Linked DNA regions of Homo sapiens: region 2 is linked to region 1. Evidence: promoter capture Hi-C in human tissues and cell types (Jung and others, 2019). All regions are on one chromosome and are shown on one strand. Each heading gives the region's core, a stretch centred on a gene start or on the middle of the fragment in contact. The rest is flanking DNA. Distances are from core to core; before and after follow the strand shown. Region 1 holds the start of RBL1 (RB transcriptional corepressor like 1). Region 2 overlaps SLA2 (Src like adaptor 2).

Evidence for each region. The method cuts DNA at HindIII sites, captures the fragments that hold promoters and counts their contacts. A contact is called where the count stands out against the background at its distance.
Region 2: a contact is called between a fragment that was not itself captured here and the fragment with the promoter of RBL1 in region 1, in 1 of the 25 tissues and cell types used here (small bowel).

The regions. Positions count from the first base shown.
Region 1 is chr20:37,091,838-37,098,946 of GRCh38, reverse strand. RBL1 (RB transcriptional corepressor like 1) reads left to right here and starts at 2,950. Exons shown (of 22, transcript NM_002895.5): 1 at 2,950-3,174. The coding sequence starts at 3,019. RefSeq lists enhancers at 2,492-2,541, 2,662-2,931, 2,582-3,258, 3,492-3,591 and a silencer at 3,162-3,221. The HindIII fragment of the contact is 15,633 bases long and covers 1-7,109 here.
Region 2 is chr20:36,625,524-36,632,820 of GRCh38, reverse strand. SLA2 (Src like adaptor 2) reads left to right here. Exons shown (of 8, transcript NM_032214.4): 5 at 123-226. Among named protein-coding and RNA genes, the nearest start is that of SLA2, 17 kb to the left of the region's middle. RefSeq lists an enhancer at 2,475-2,584. The HindIII fragment of the contact is 5,892 bases long and covers 1-5,259 here.

The DNA.
Region 1 (7,109 bases), core at 1,701-4,200:
GCATCTTTTCACATCTAAAAGCCATTTACATTTGCTTTTCTAAGATTGTATGCAAATCCTTTCCCCCTTCTGTGGGTAGAGAGGCTTTATTAATCTTTGTAATGCACTACTTCCACAGTGCAGAACCAGCTTAAAGATCACCACTTTAGTTTTTCCTCCAAGGAAAAAGAACATTAAGAATGGTGAGGTCCAGCTGGGCATGGTGGCTCACGCCTATAATCCCAGCATTTTGGGAGGCTGAGGCGGGTGCATCACCTGAGGTCAGGAGTTCAAGACCAGCCTGGCCATCATGGCGAAACCCCGTCTCTACTAAAAATGCAAAAAAAAAAGTTAGCCGGGCATGGTGGCGTGTGCCTGTAGTCCCAGGTACTTGGGGGGCTGAGGAAGGAGAATTGCTTGAACCTAGGAGGGAGAGGTTGCAGTGAGCTGAGATCTTGCCACTGCACTCCAGCCTGGGTGACAGAGTGAGACTCTGTCTCAAAAAAAAAAAAAAAGAATGGTGAGGTCAGGTCTTGCCCCTCCCCCACAAATATCAACTGCTTTTTTTTTTTTTTTTTTTTTTTTTAATAGAAGGTTAGACAAGCAGTTTGTCCTGAGAGGGGCAAGTGCAGACTGATTTTCTGCTTAGGGCATAGCAAAGCTGGAGGACAAAAAAAGAAAAAAAAATTTAAGAATTTCAAAATGAGACATCTTGGGAAAATTAGTTAGAACTTTCTTGTACTTTCTTACACTTATTTTGTGATTTAGAATTGCATATATTTTGAATTACATTTGGAAGGGTACACACTATAATCTTTTTAGTCTTGGAATCCCTAAAGGTCATAATCAGGTTCCAACCACATGCTTTGGGAGAACTCTGAAATATTAAACCACAACAGGGAGGCTAATCATAGAGGCTATCACACAATGGGATCAAAATAGAAACAACCTTCATGTGTATCTGGCTCAAAACTGAAGGGCAGAGTAAATCTATTTCACTACCCATACTTCATTTTCTTTTTTCTTTTTTTTTTTTTTTTTTTTGAGACGGAGTCTCGCTCTGTCACCAGGCTGGAGTGCAGTGGCACGATCTTGGCTTACTGCAACCTCCGCCTCCCAGGTTCCAGCGATTCTTCTACCTCAGCCTGCCAAGTAGCTGGGATTACAAGCGCCCGCCACCATGCCCAGCTAATTTTTGTATTTTTAGTAGAGACGGGGTTTCACCATGTTGGCCAGGATGATCTCGATCTCCTGATCTGGTGACCCGCCTGCCTCAGCCTCCCAAAGTGCTGGGATTACAGGTGTGAGCCACTGCAACCGGCCTTCCATACTTCATTTTCTATTCAGAAAAGCTCAATTTTGGGTTAAATGGGCATGTCCTGGGATAATAAGAAAAAATAAAACCAATATAAGGAAGGGCATATTGATTTTTGGTTTTTTTAAATGCATGCAGGTGAGGCTGGGTTTGACAGATGTGTCCTCAGTTGTTTGTTTTTGAGACAGAGTCTCACTCTGTTACCCAGACTGGAGTGCAGTGGTGCAATCTTGGCTTACTACAGCCTCTGCCTCCTCGGTTCAAGCGATTCTTTATTCTCATGTCTCAGTTGCCCAGGTTGTTAGGATTACACAAGTGCACCCACACGCCCAGCTAATTTTTATATTTTTAGTAGTGACGGGGTTTTGCCTTGTTGGCCTGACTGGTCTCAAACTCCTGGACTCAAGTGATCCACCTGCCTCGGCCTCCCAAAGTACTGGGATTACAGGCAAAGCAAATAATGGAACAACAAAAGAACGAAGACAGGGATTTATTGAAAACAAAAGTACACTCCATAGTGGGGAAGCGAACCCACGCAGCAGCTCAAGGGCCCAGACACAGAATCTTCTGGGGTCCAAATACCCTCTAGAAGTTTCCCATTGGCCACTTTATGCTCTCTTGATGTAACTGAAGTGGTAGCCCACAATCAGTCTGAGTGGTTGCAGAAAGCAACCAATCAGAGGCCAGGGTGAAGTTAACAAAATTATACTTCTATGCAAAGGAAGACTCTCCCGCCATCAGTCTGATTGGTTGTGGACAGCAACCGTTCAGAGGCTGGAGTGAAGTTACAAAGTTGCAAACAAAGACTGGAAGGCGCTCAGTGTGATTTGTTGCAGACAGCCAATTTCCCATCTGCCATGCAGAAAAGGTCCAAGGGAACAGCCTCTGGTTCTTTTGTTACTTAGGCGTGGAAAGTTGGGGTTTTCCTTTCAATTTAGTTCTAAGAAGTCACGTGAAACAGCCATAGGTTCCCTGCCTCCAGACCCTATTCTCCTGCCTCATTTACTGCAGTCTTCTCTGCCTGCCTCTTTTAGCGACTAGCATGAGATGAGGATTCGTCTTCTAATATCCGTCACCAATCCTTCCCCTCTGTCATTTAGCGAACCACTCACTGGGCACTAGGACTTTGGGGAGAGTCCCAAGAGGCCCCTCTTCGTCCAGGGGCTACTTTTTTCTCTTCCAGCCTCCATCTCCTAACTCAAGGGGTACAGCTCAGATTATGTTTGGCGCCCAGGGACAGTGACAAACCCAGGGCCCGTGGATAGAGGAGGCATCTCACTACGCTGCACGAGGCCACCTCGCAGTAGGCAGCCCAGCCCTGCCCCAAAACCCAAGAGCCTAACCAGGAAGACAGGGGGAGGCCGCGGGCTTCATCTCCCAAGAGATGGACTACACCTCCCAGCAGGCTCTGCGCGCGGGCTGAGGATCCCTCCGCTCTTTTTCTGTCCCGCCGGCTGGGCCCCCCGCGACCAGCCAAGGGCCAAGGACAGGTCTTTCAGAATCTGAGGTACATCTTCTTATCACATTTCCGGGGAGGGACTGCTAGGAGCTCCGGAGGAAAAACGGACTTTTTTTGAGGAGAAAAGCGGAGGCAGACGGTGGATGACAACACGTCCCGCAGCTGCAGATTTTCGCGCGCTTTGGCGCAGGTGGTTGTGGGTAGCGCGCCTGGGAGGGAGAAAGAAGTCGGGGGCCGTGGCGCGCAGCCCGCGGGGCCTGAAGGGATGTTCGAGGACAAGCCCCACGCTGAGGGGGCGGCGGTGGTCGCCGCAGCCGGGGAGGCGCTACAGGCCCTGTGCCAGGAGCTGAACCTGGACGAGGGGAGCGCGGCCGAAGCCCTGGACGACTTTACTGCCATCCGAGGCAACTACAGCCTAGAGGTGAGCGGCAGCAGGTGGGGCGGCCGGACCCTACCCTCGCCAGGCCCCACCCCTGCCCCGCCCCTTCCTCGGCCTATGGGGTGGTGGGAGTTTCCCCACCTAGGAGGGTCGCTGCGCAGCCAAGCGCCGAGGGGCGGGAAAGGTGGGTGTAGCTCAGCCAATCCACCCATCATTTTGAGGCGGGAAACTGAAGCTCAGGAAAGGAGCGGCCTAGGTCCCGCGCCGCTCAGACCCCAGGCTTCCTGACCACACTTCCCTCTACCCCGCCAAGCGCCACAAAAGTCATGGTGCTGCCCTTAAATCAGTAAGAACAAATATAATGGTAAAGTGAAAATGAACTGCATGCCAAGACATCACTGCCCAGAGCTTTAAATGGACCCTCAGTTCCGTCTGAACCCCTTCTGTGATCCCCATTTCACGCAAGAGGAAGCGGAGCCCTAGACGGGTTAAGCTACAGGCCCAAGGTCACACGGTTAGAGATGGAGCCAGACCCAGGGTCTGAGCCGTTTAACCTCCACCCTCTGCTTCACCAGGGTGGAGCTGCCGGTCGCTGTGCAGCAGTTTGATCAAAGCCAATGTGCACACGAAGCTGATCTCAGCCCTACGTTTCCTCCTCCGTCAGAGCATCGTCCTGATGCTTTGCATCAGTGTCTGGCTCTGAATAAAACAAATGTCAGTTATAATTACTTGATTTTTTTCCCCATCATTCTTGCATTTTATCCTCGCAACAGCCCTGTGAACATGGCATGGCAATGAGTATTAGACTGCTTTCCAGGTGATAATGGCAAGGCTCAGAAGGTTGTCTTGCCTAGGATTATTCTAATATAGAAACCCAGGCTGGGCGTGGCGGCTCACGCCTATAATCCCAGCACTTTGGGAGGCCAAGGCGGGCGGATCACTTGAGGCCAGGAGTTCGAGACTAACCTGGGCAACACGGCGAAACCCCATCTCTACTAAAAAAATACAAAAACTAGCTGGGTGTGGTGGCGCCTGCCTGTAATCTAGCTACTCGGGAGGCTGAGGCAGGAGAATTGCTTAAACCCAGGAGGCATAGGCCGCAGTGAGTGGAGATCACACCACTGCACTCCAGCCTGGGTGACAGCAAGACTCTATCTAAAAACAGAGAAAGAAACCCAGACGAGCATAAGCCCAGTGTAGACAGAATTGTGATGGAGTGTATTTCATGTAGCACCACTGGCCTCATGTTCAAAGGCTTTCATGTGCCAAGGGCGCTGGACCCACTCCCAGGGTGCACCACTGACTCACCACCCAGTGAAATAATTGCTGGGTTCAAAGGCATAGAGTTGGAAAAGTGTCGATTGTATGTGTGCCTATATATGAAGGAGTAGTACCTGAAAAAAGTGTCTTCAGAACTGGATAGACTGGGTAAAGGACAATGGTCCACATCCGTGGGTGGCATGACTGGAGAGCTGTGGGAAGAATAAGAAAGTAAGGGAGATTAGAATGAATGGCGTCTCAATTGAAAACAGATTGATTTTTGAAAGCCTGAGAAAGCATTTCTGACATCCTAGGTCTGATTTGGTCTCTCTTGCCCAAGGTCACACCATCTGTCATTGAATAAGCATTTACTGTGTCAAACTATGGTCAAGGCATGCACCTGTTTCAGATTCTTGAATATGACAAGTTTGTTCCCAGTTTTGTGGTATATCCATGCCATTCCCTCTGCCTGGAATATTTCCCCTCACCCCCAACACCAGGAAAAGTTGAGAGCTAAATCTCTAGTTAGGCAGAGTTGAATAGGACATCTTCAATGTTTGCTCTACTTATTTATTTTTTCTTTCTTTTTTTCTTCCTTAGAAACAGGGTCTTGGCCGGGCGCACGGTGGCTCACACCTGTAATCCCACCACTTTGGGAGGCTGAGGTGGGCAGATCACCTTAGGTCAGGGGTCCAAGACCAGCCTGGCCAGCATGGTGAAACCCCGTCTCTACTAAAAATATAAAATTAGCTGAGCATGGTGACGTGCACTTGTAATCCCAGCTACTCAGGAGGCTGAGGCAGGAGAATCTCTTGAAACCAGGAGGTAGAGGTTGCAGTGAGCCAAGATCACGCCATTGCACTCCACCCTGCACAAGAGTGTAACTCCATCTCAAAAAAAAAAAAAAAATGGAAAGAAACAGGGTCTTGCTCTTTTGACCAGGCCTGGAATGCAGTGGTGCAATTATAGCTCACTGTAAACTCAAACTTCTGTGCTCAAGTGATGTTCCTGCTTCAGCCTCCCCAGTAGCTGGGACTATAGGCATGCACCACGGTGCTCAGCTAATTTTTCAATTTTTTGTGGAGATAGTATCTGACTATGTTGCCCAAGCTGGTCTTGAACTGGCCTCAAGTGATTTTTCTGCCGCAGCCTCCCAGAGCATTGGGATTACAAGCATGAGCCACCGAGCCCAGCCCAATGCTTGCTTTAGAAAGCACAAATGTATGAACTGAAATTTTGTGTTTATTCTATCCAGTGTTTATTTTCCTCTTTTTTTAAAATCAATTTTTTAAAGGTATTTGGAGTAGTCATTTTCATATATCTCATGCTTCCTAAGAAGTCTTTCTCCAATCCCTACCCCTCTCTAGTCTACCTGACAAACTCCTGCTTACATTTTTATTGATTTACAAATTTTGTCTCCTTTTGTGAGGCCTTCCCTAAACTGTAGTCAAAATCAGTTATTCACTGCACTATATTCTCCTACAACACTTTATCTTCAGTTCTTCTTATAGCTTGTATATCTCACCAATTATAAATGATAGTATCTGTTCCTCTTCTTAGCTCCAGATGTGAAGTTCTGTGAGATCAGAAAACATTTTTTGTATTTCTAAGGCCTGGCAAGTAGGCCTTAGAAATGCAAAAAATGGTTTCTGATATCATAGAATTCATAGAATTTTTATGAAATAGGATTTTATCAAATAGAATTGTATTCTATTTTATTCTCATGGAATAAAATAGTTGACTTTTTTAAGGAAAGAAAGTCAGGCCAGGCACAGTGGCTCACACCTATAATCCCAGCACTTTGGGAGGCTGAGGCAGGAGGATCACTTGAGCCCAGAAGTTCAAGACCAGCCTGGGCAACATAGTGAGACCCTATCTCTACACAAAATAAAATAGGCTGGGCATGGTGGCTCACACCTGTTATCCCGACATTTTGGGAGGCTGAGGCAGGTGGATCACTTGAGCCCAGGAGTTTGAGACCAGCTTGGGCAATATGGTGAAACCCCATCTCTACAAAAATTAGCTGGGTGTGGTGGCATGTGCCTTTAGTCCCAGCTACTCCAGAGGCTAAGGTGGGGGGATTGCTTGAGCCTGGGAGGTCGAGGCTGCAGTGGCCCTCATTCCTGGGAAGTCAAGACTGCAGTGGCCCTGATTGTACCACTGCACTCCAGCCTGGGGCAACAGAGTGAGACCCTGTTTTAAAAAGTAAAATAAAAATCAGTGTATTCTTTAATGTCTTTAAAAAAATCGAAACAATAATTTTAGGACTTATATTTTCACCATCTTGCTAGAATTTTCATTTAGTAGCCTGTATCCAAAGGCTCTATAATACTTGGATGCTAATCCCAAACAACTCTTTCTCTTTTTCTTTTTTGAGACAAAAAAAGGGCCTCAGGCACTTCTCCCATCTCAGCCTCCAGAGTAGCTGGGACTACAGGCGCATACCACCACGTCCTGCTAATTTTTTTGTATTTTGTAGAGATAGGGTTTTGCTGTGTTACCCAAGCTAGTCTCGAACCCCTGAACTCAAGCAGTCCACCCACATCAGCTTCCCAAAGTGCTGGAATTACATGCGTAAGCCACCATGACCAGACCCTATTCCCAAGCAATTCATTAATCAAAGCTTGTAAAAATATTCATCTTTAAGCTTACCTGCCTCATTTAGTGCTTTGAGAAAAGACTTCTCATTCCTTCAGGGTAGGAACATTGGGTTTATT
Region 2 (7,297 bases), core at 1,064-3,563, 470 kb after region 1:
AGAACTCTGAGGCCCAGAGAGGGAGGGCCTTGTGAGGGTCACTCAGCGGTGGTGGTAAAATCTTGGCTTCCCTCTTCCTCCAGGCTGACCCTGTCCCTTGTCCCTCTCTTTCGCTCCGCCAGGTGGCTGTATGAGGGCCTGAGCAGGGAGAAAGCAGAGGAACTGCTGTTGTTACCTGGGAACCCTGGAGGGGCCTTCCTCATCCGGGAGAGCCAGACCAGGAGAGGTGAGTAAGCTCGGTGCCAGCCCAGGCCCTCCCTACGTGGAGGTCTCAGAAAGGAGCCCACAGATATATGGCTGCAGGTGCGGCCCAGAAAATAGGCTTTGCCTGACTTCTCAGTCAACCAAGATTTCCTGAGCCCCAGCTCCGTGTCCTGCCCATATGAACCATGTGGAGCCCAGGCTGGGGGAGATGGAGACAGGCCATGAAAGCAGAGGAGAGGCAGCTAACTTTGGAGCAATCAAGGGAGGCTTCATGGAGGAATAGACCATGAGTGGACCTGGAGGAGTGGACCTGGGATCCTGAGGGATGTTCCCACAGGATCCCAGGCAACAAGACACAGTGGTGCTGGGGTGGGCCAGTGGGCTGCACCTCGGGACAATAGGAGGTTAGAAGTGAGCAAGCTCCAGCACAGAGGCCTTGGATGCCGAGCTGAGAAGCTTTGGTTTTCTCCCAAGGCAGTGGGGTTGCTACTCAGCAGAGACACAGTGCTGGGCGTGTGTTTTGGGGGAAACGAGAGGATGCATTACAGGGACTCTCTGAGTGTGTTCTGTGGGCCACCTGCTTAGAAGTAGAGGAGATGGGGGGTCAGTTTAGGGGACCCCGAAAATCGTATCCTTCTCTGAGAGGTTCACAATCCGTGTTAACACAAGACTTCTTAAGGCGTCGCGTTTGCCTAACTGGGCATTTCCCAAGTGTTTCTGACACAGGAGTGTTTCATCATGCAGCACCAGTCAGAGTCACTCCATGTTCATTCATTCAGCAAATGCTTCTCCAGCACCTATGATGTGGGGAGGCTTCAGGGAAGGACAGGACCTACTGTATGTGTCAGGCCTTAGGCATCTCTGCTGAGTGAGGTGGCCATGGTCCCTGCTCTCAGGGAGCTCCTGGGTCACTGGAAGCCAGTGTTCCATGGCACAGAGTTTGGGAAACATACCTCTATTTGAGATCCACAGTGATGCCAGGGCTTGCCCCTCCAATGCCAAGAGCCAAGTGTGATATGACTTGAGGGTGGGGCAGAAGGCCAAATGTGAAGGGCTGGAGTTCCTAGCCTTGGTGTCTAGCAGTCTGGCTGTCATCTGCCATGTTGCTGCCATGAGAGCCTATCAGCAATAGAGCAAAAATCTGCATTTCTAAAAATAATACAGGCCGGGCACTGTGGCTCACACCTGTAATCCCAGCACTTTGGGAGGCTGAGGTGGGAGAATCACTTGTGCCCAGAAATTTGAGACCAGCCTAGCCAACATAATGAGACCACTTCTCTACAAAAAAATTTAAAATGTAGTGAGGCATGGTGGTGCATCCCTGTAGTCCGAGCTACTTCGGAGGCTGAAGTGGGAGGATCACTTAAGTCCAGGAGTTCCAGGGTGCAGTGAGCCATGATTGCACCACTGCACTCCAGCCTGGGCAACAGAGCCAGACTCCATTTCAAAAAATAAAAGTGAATGTGAATGGCCCACAGTAGGGATCTAGGCTCAGCCAACACATTGGCAACTAGGATTTTTAATAGAGTATAGTCACAGAATTTCTCTGCGTTGACTAGGAGGTGATTCCTCCTTCCCCAAGACACAACATGATTCTGATCTCTTGGCAAAACATTAAAATGGTGACAGGATCTCTTGGGTCAGTAGCCAGTCAGAGCTAGAAACCCACTGGAAGTCATCTCATGGATCCTCCTCGCTCCACTGTACAGACTGAAAAACTGGACCAAAGAGGAGTAGGAACGGGCCACATGCACATTCATGTGGGGCTTCTCCCACCCCAGGTGCAGGGTCTTTTGCAATCAAAACACAAAGTTGATTGTCTCTTTGATGACCCTGCCTCCCTCTGAGCTGCTGCCCCTGAGTCCTTTAAGGCAGAGGCAAAGAGGGATGTTGAAGGAGCAGCAGCCCCCACGTTTATGTTAAGCCCTTTAAGTGACTTAAAACAATGTATGGGGATTGTACTTCCATTGTCTTCATTTTACAGATGGAAAAACTGAGGCTTAGGGAAGAGAAATAATTTGCCTGGGGAAACACAGCTAGTAAGTGCAGAGCCAGGATTCAAACCCAGCCACACCTCCTCTCACTCCAGGCCCCCAAGAAAGGCCCACGTGGGGCAGTAATGTTGGCACTGCAAGCATAGCAACAGACCAGGGAAGGAGGTATCAGGAATGGACAGACCTCCTGGCGCCCGCCTTGATATGAACCAACTGTGATAGGCTGTCGGGACCCTTCGTTCTCTGCCTCAGTCTCCCTCCCAGGACCCTTTCCAGCTTCTTTGTCTCTCCTCTCCTGCCCTTGGGCGTTCTTGGGTTGACCTCTCTGAGGCCCCTCCTGCTATTTTCTAGGCAGCATCAGCACCCCCACCTCACATACATCCATAGGCTGGTAGAGGGGCTGGGGAGGCCAGCCCAGCACAGCAGCTGCAAACAGGAAACCACAGCAGCGTTGCGGAGTGGAGCAGGGCCCCACTGCAGACTGTCCCCTGGAGCTTCAGAAGCCACAGGAAGTGCTCAGTGCTCAGCTCCCCTCCCCTGGCCCATTCTCTGGCCTGGGTCAGCCCCAAGAATATAGTGGCTGGCCCTTATGGCCACTCTGCCCCTTACCTAAAAAGACACAGATGCAAAGAGAAAACTCTGTGAGTGAGAAGAGAAAGCCGTATGGAGACTTTTTTTTTTTTTTTGAGACAGAGTCTCACTGTGTCGCCCAGGCTGGCGTGAAGTGGCACATTTTGGCTCAGTGCAGCCTCTGCCTCCTGGGTTCAAGTGATTGTCATGCCTCAGCCTCCCTGGTAGCTGGGATTACAGGCGAGTGCTACCACACCGGGATAATTATTATACTTTTTTGAGACAGAGTCTCACTCTGTTGCCTATGCTGGAGTGCAGTGGTGCGATCTCGGTTCACTGCAACCTCCACGTCCTGGGTTCAAGCGAGTCTCCTGCTTCAACCTCCTGAGTAGCTGGGATGACAGGCACATGCCACCATGCCCAACTAATTTTTGTGTTTTTAGTAGAGACAGGGTTTCATCATGTTGGCCAGGCTGATCTCAAACTCCTGACCTCAGATGATCCACCCACCTCGGCCTCCCAAAGTGCTGGGATTACAGGAGTAAGGCACTGCACCGGACTATTTTTTTTTTTTTGTATTTTTAGTAGAAACGGGGTTTTGCCATGTTGGCCAGGCTGGTCTCAAACTCCTGACCCTCAGATAATCCGCCCACCTTGGCCTCCCAAAGTGCTAGGATACAGGCATGAGCCACCGCGCCCAGCGGGATCCATGAAGATCTTTAAAGACTCATAAGATCCACATAAGGCCTCACCTGAGGTCAGGAGTTTGAGACCAGCTTGGCCAACATGGCGAAACCCCATCTGTACTAAAAATACAAAAAAATTAGCCGGGCATGGTGGCAGGTGCCTGTAATCCCAGCTACTCAGGAGGCTAAGGCTAGAGAATTGCTTGAACCTGGAGGTGGAGGTTGCAGTGAGACGAGATCGCACCACTGCACTCCAGCCTGGGTGACAAAGCGAGACTATGTCTCAAAAAAAAAAAAAAAATCCTCATAATTACCGGGACTAAGGTCTCCAGGTCCCCATAGTCAATTCCAAAAGGAGATGGATCAGGATGCAGCTATTGTTATCAAAGAGGAAGATGAAAAATGTTAGTTGGGGGAGGAGAAAAGAAAGAAGAAATTTGCCAATTTTCCAGGAAAGGTAAAATTTTCCTGCGGGTCATGGTTGATTTGTGGGTCAAGAAATCAGTTTAGGGGCCAGGTGCAGTGTCTCACACCTGTAATCCCAGCACATTGTGAGGCCAAGGCAGGAGGATCACTTGAGTCCAGGAGTTCAAAACCAGTCTGGGCAACAAAGGGAGACCCCCATCTCTTAAAAAAAAAAAATTTTTTTTTAAGTTAGCTAGGTGTGGTGGCATGTGCGTGTTGTCTAAGCTACTTGGGAGGCTGAGGCAGGAGGATCACTTAAGCCCAAGAAGTCGATGCTGCAGTGAGCTATGATCACACCACTGGACTCCAGCCTGGGTGACAGACCAAGACCCTGTCTCAAATAAATAAATAAATTCAATAAATCAACACTGATGCCTGTACCCCACCTCCAGGGTTTCTGATCTCACTGGTCAGGGATGTGGCCTGCACACTGTAAAAGCTGCCCAGGTGATTCTGATGGGTAGCCAGGGTCGGAACCCACTAATTTAGTGCGTCTGGACCAGTGCGTGTTTGTAGTGAAATTGAGCAGAGAACATGACCATGGTTGGGGTAAACATTGCGTCATAAAACTTTTGTTTCAGATTTTGTATAAGGTGTGTCCTGCGTCACAGTGTAAACTTTTATACTGTGGTTTGACACCACAGTGACTCTAGGGGCCCAAGTGACGTCATAGAACAGTGGTTCTCAGACTTGAGTGTACAGGACTCATCAGGGGAACTTGTTGACACTGTAGACTTGTAGGCCCTACCGCAGACCTAACTGAATCAGACTTTTGGGGGCAGAGGTCAGAAATCTGCTTCTTGGACAGGCTCTCTGGATGGTTCTATTGTTCTCTTGAGTTTGAAAACAGAGTTCCAATCTAGGGAACCCAGAATGAAGTAATAAGAGACAATGTACTTTACATTATGCTCTTGTCGTATATAATGGGAATTAGCCATTGACCAAGTGAGTGAGTGATGCCAGGATCAGCTTTTCATTGGCCCAAAGGCACTGATTCCACACGAGCTTCAAGCCTGCATGTGGACCAAGGAGGAAGGCCTGGGGCCCTGAGCTACCAGGAACACTAATCAGAGTCCGGAGCAGGAAGACCCCATCTTCCCAAGTCCTTCTGGCATACCTGGCTATATGATAGGCCTCGGGACAGCCATGGCCAGGCTCTAGTCAGGCCCCAAATCTTGCTCCGTGAAGGGGGCCTAGAAGCTTTGTGGAGGTCACAGGATTGTGCAGAGGTCAGCACAGGGTTAGGGACAGGCCCCAGCAGCAGCCCCTCTGCGCTGTCCTGCTGTATATCTGTTCTGTGTCAGGCACTATAAGGGAGATTGATGAGCAAGACGTGGTTCCTGCCCCTGCAGGGCTCACCTCTGTCCACTGTCAGTTGGGAAACACTTACTGAGCATCTCCTCCGAGTCAGGCCTGCTAAGTCATGGCTTTTGTCCTCAGGGTGCAGACAGTGGAGGGTGCAACATTCAATCCCTAAAGCTTCTTAGAGGCCTCAGCAGAGAAGGTTCAGGAGGGTCCTGCTAGGCCCACTTCTCACATGCAGCTCCTTATCTGATCCCTCATCCCTCACTCCCAGCATCATCACTGGAATACCTGACCCCAGAGGTCCCGGAGGTGATGTTGCCTAAGCCTGCTGGAGCTTTCTGAAATTAGGACCTTATACTTGGCCTTTCTTTCTGGTGGGTCCTCCTCTAGGCTCCGCGTCCAGCCACAGCTTCCACTGTTCCCTCTGGACCCTCTGCCCACCAGCCACTCTGTAAACACCTTGTTCTTTCTACCGCTGCATCCTTACACATACCCCTCCCTCCATCTGGAAAGCCTGCCCTCCGCTTCTCCTCACGGCAAGCTCACACTCATCCTTCGCCATTCTTTCCAGTGGGACTTTCCCAGACTACCACCTACCCAGACTATCGCCTTCCCAGACTATCACCTACCCAGGCTATCGCCTTCCCATACTATGTCAATTTTTGTTCTCAACTCCCATAGCATCTTGAAAATACCTCTTCTGTAGCTATAATAGGTTTATCTCTTTTCTTTTCCTCTTTTTTTTTTTTTTTTTGAGATGGAGTCTTGCTGTCGCCCAGGCTGGAATGCAGTTGGCGGGATCTCGGCTCACTGCAAGCTCTGCCTCCCGGTTTCACGCCATTCTCCTGCCTCAGCCTCCCGAGTAGCTGGGACCACAGGCGGCTGCCACCACACCCGGCTAATTTTTTGTATTAGTAGAGATGGGGTTTCACCATGTTAGCCAGGATGGTCTCGATCTCCTGACCTTGTGATCTGCCCGTCTGGGCCTCCCAAAGTGCTGGGATTACAGGCATGAGCCACCGCGCCCAGACTTTTTTTTTTTTAAGACAGGGTCACCCAAGCTGGAGTGCGGTGGCACTATCTCGGCTCACTGCAACCTCCACCTCCCAGGCCCAAGCGATTCTCCCACCTCAGCCTCCTGAGTAGCTGGGACTACAGGTGAATGCTTCCACGCCCTGCGAATTTTTGTGTGTGTTTTTTTTTTTTTAGACGGAGTCTCGTTCTGTCATTGGGCTGGAGTGCAGTGGCACAATCTCGGCTCATTGCAACCTATGCCTCCTGGGTTCAAGCAATTCTCCTGCCTCAGCCTCCCGAGTAGCTAGGATTACAGGTGCGTGCCACCACGCCCAGCTAATTTTTGTATTTTTAGTAGAGACAGGGTTTCACCATGTTGGCCAGGATGGTCTTGATCTCTTGACCTTGTGATCTACCCACCTTGGCATCGTAAAGTACTGGGATTACAGGCATGAGCCACTGCGCCCAGCTGTATTTTTTTTTAAAGTCAGGGTTTTGCCATGTTGCCCTGGCTGGTCTTGAACTCCTGACCTCAAGTGATCCACCCACCTTGGCCTCCCAAAGTGCTCAGATTACAGGCGTGACCCACCATGTCTGGCCCAGGTAATTTTTGTATTTTGAGTAGAAACAGGGTTTGGCCATGTTGCCCAGGCTAGTCTTGAACTTCTGACCTCAGGTGATCTGCCCACCTTGGCCTTCCAAAGTGCTGGGTTTATAGGCATGAGCCACCACACCCAGCTTTTTTTTTTTTTTTTTTTGACAGGATCTCACTCTATTGCCCAGGCTGGAGTGCAGTGGCACAATCATGGTTCACTGCAGTCTTGAACTTGTGGGCTCAAGTGATCCTCCCACCTCAGCTTCTTGAGTAGCTGGAACTACAGGCGTGCACCACCATGCCTAACTTTTAAATTTTTGTAGAGACAGGATCTCACTCTATTGCCCAGGCTGGTCTCGAACTCCTGGGCTCAAGCCATCCTCCCGCCTTAGACTTCCCAAGTGCTGGGATTACAGGCATGAGCCACCACAGCTGGCTAAATTTATTTCCTAAAACAAAATCAT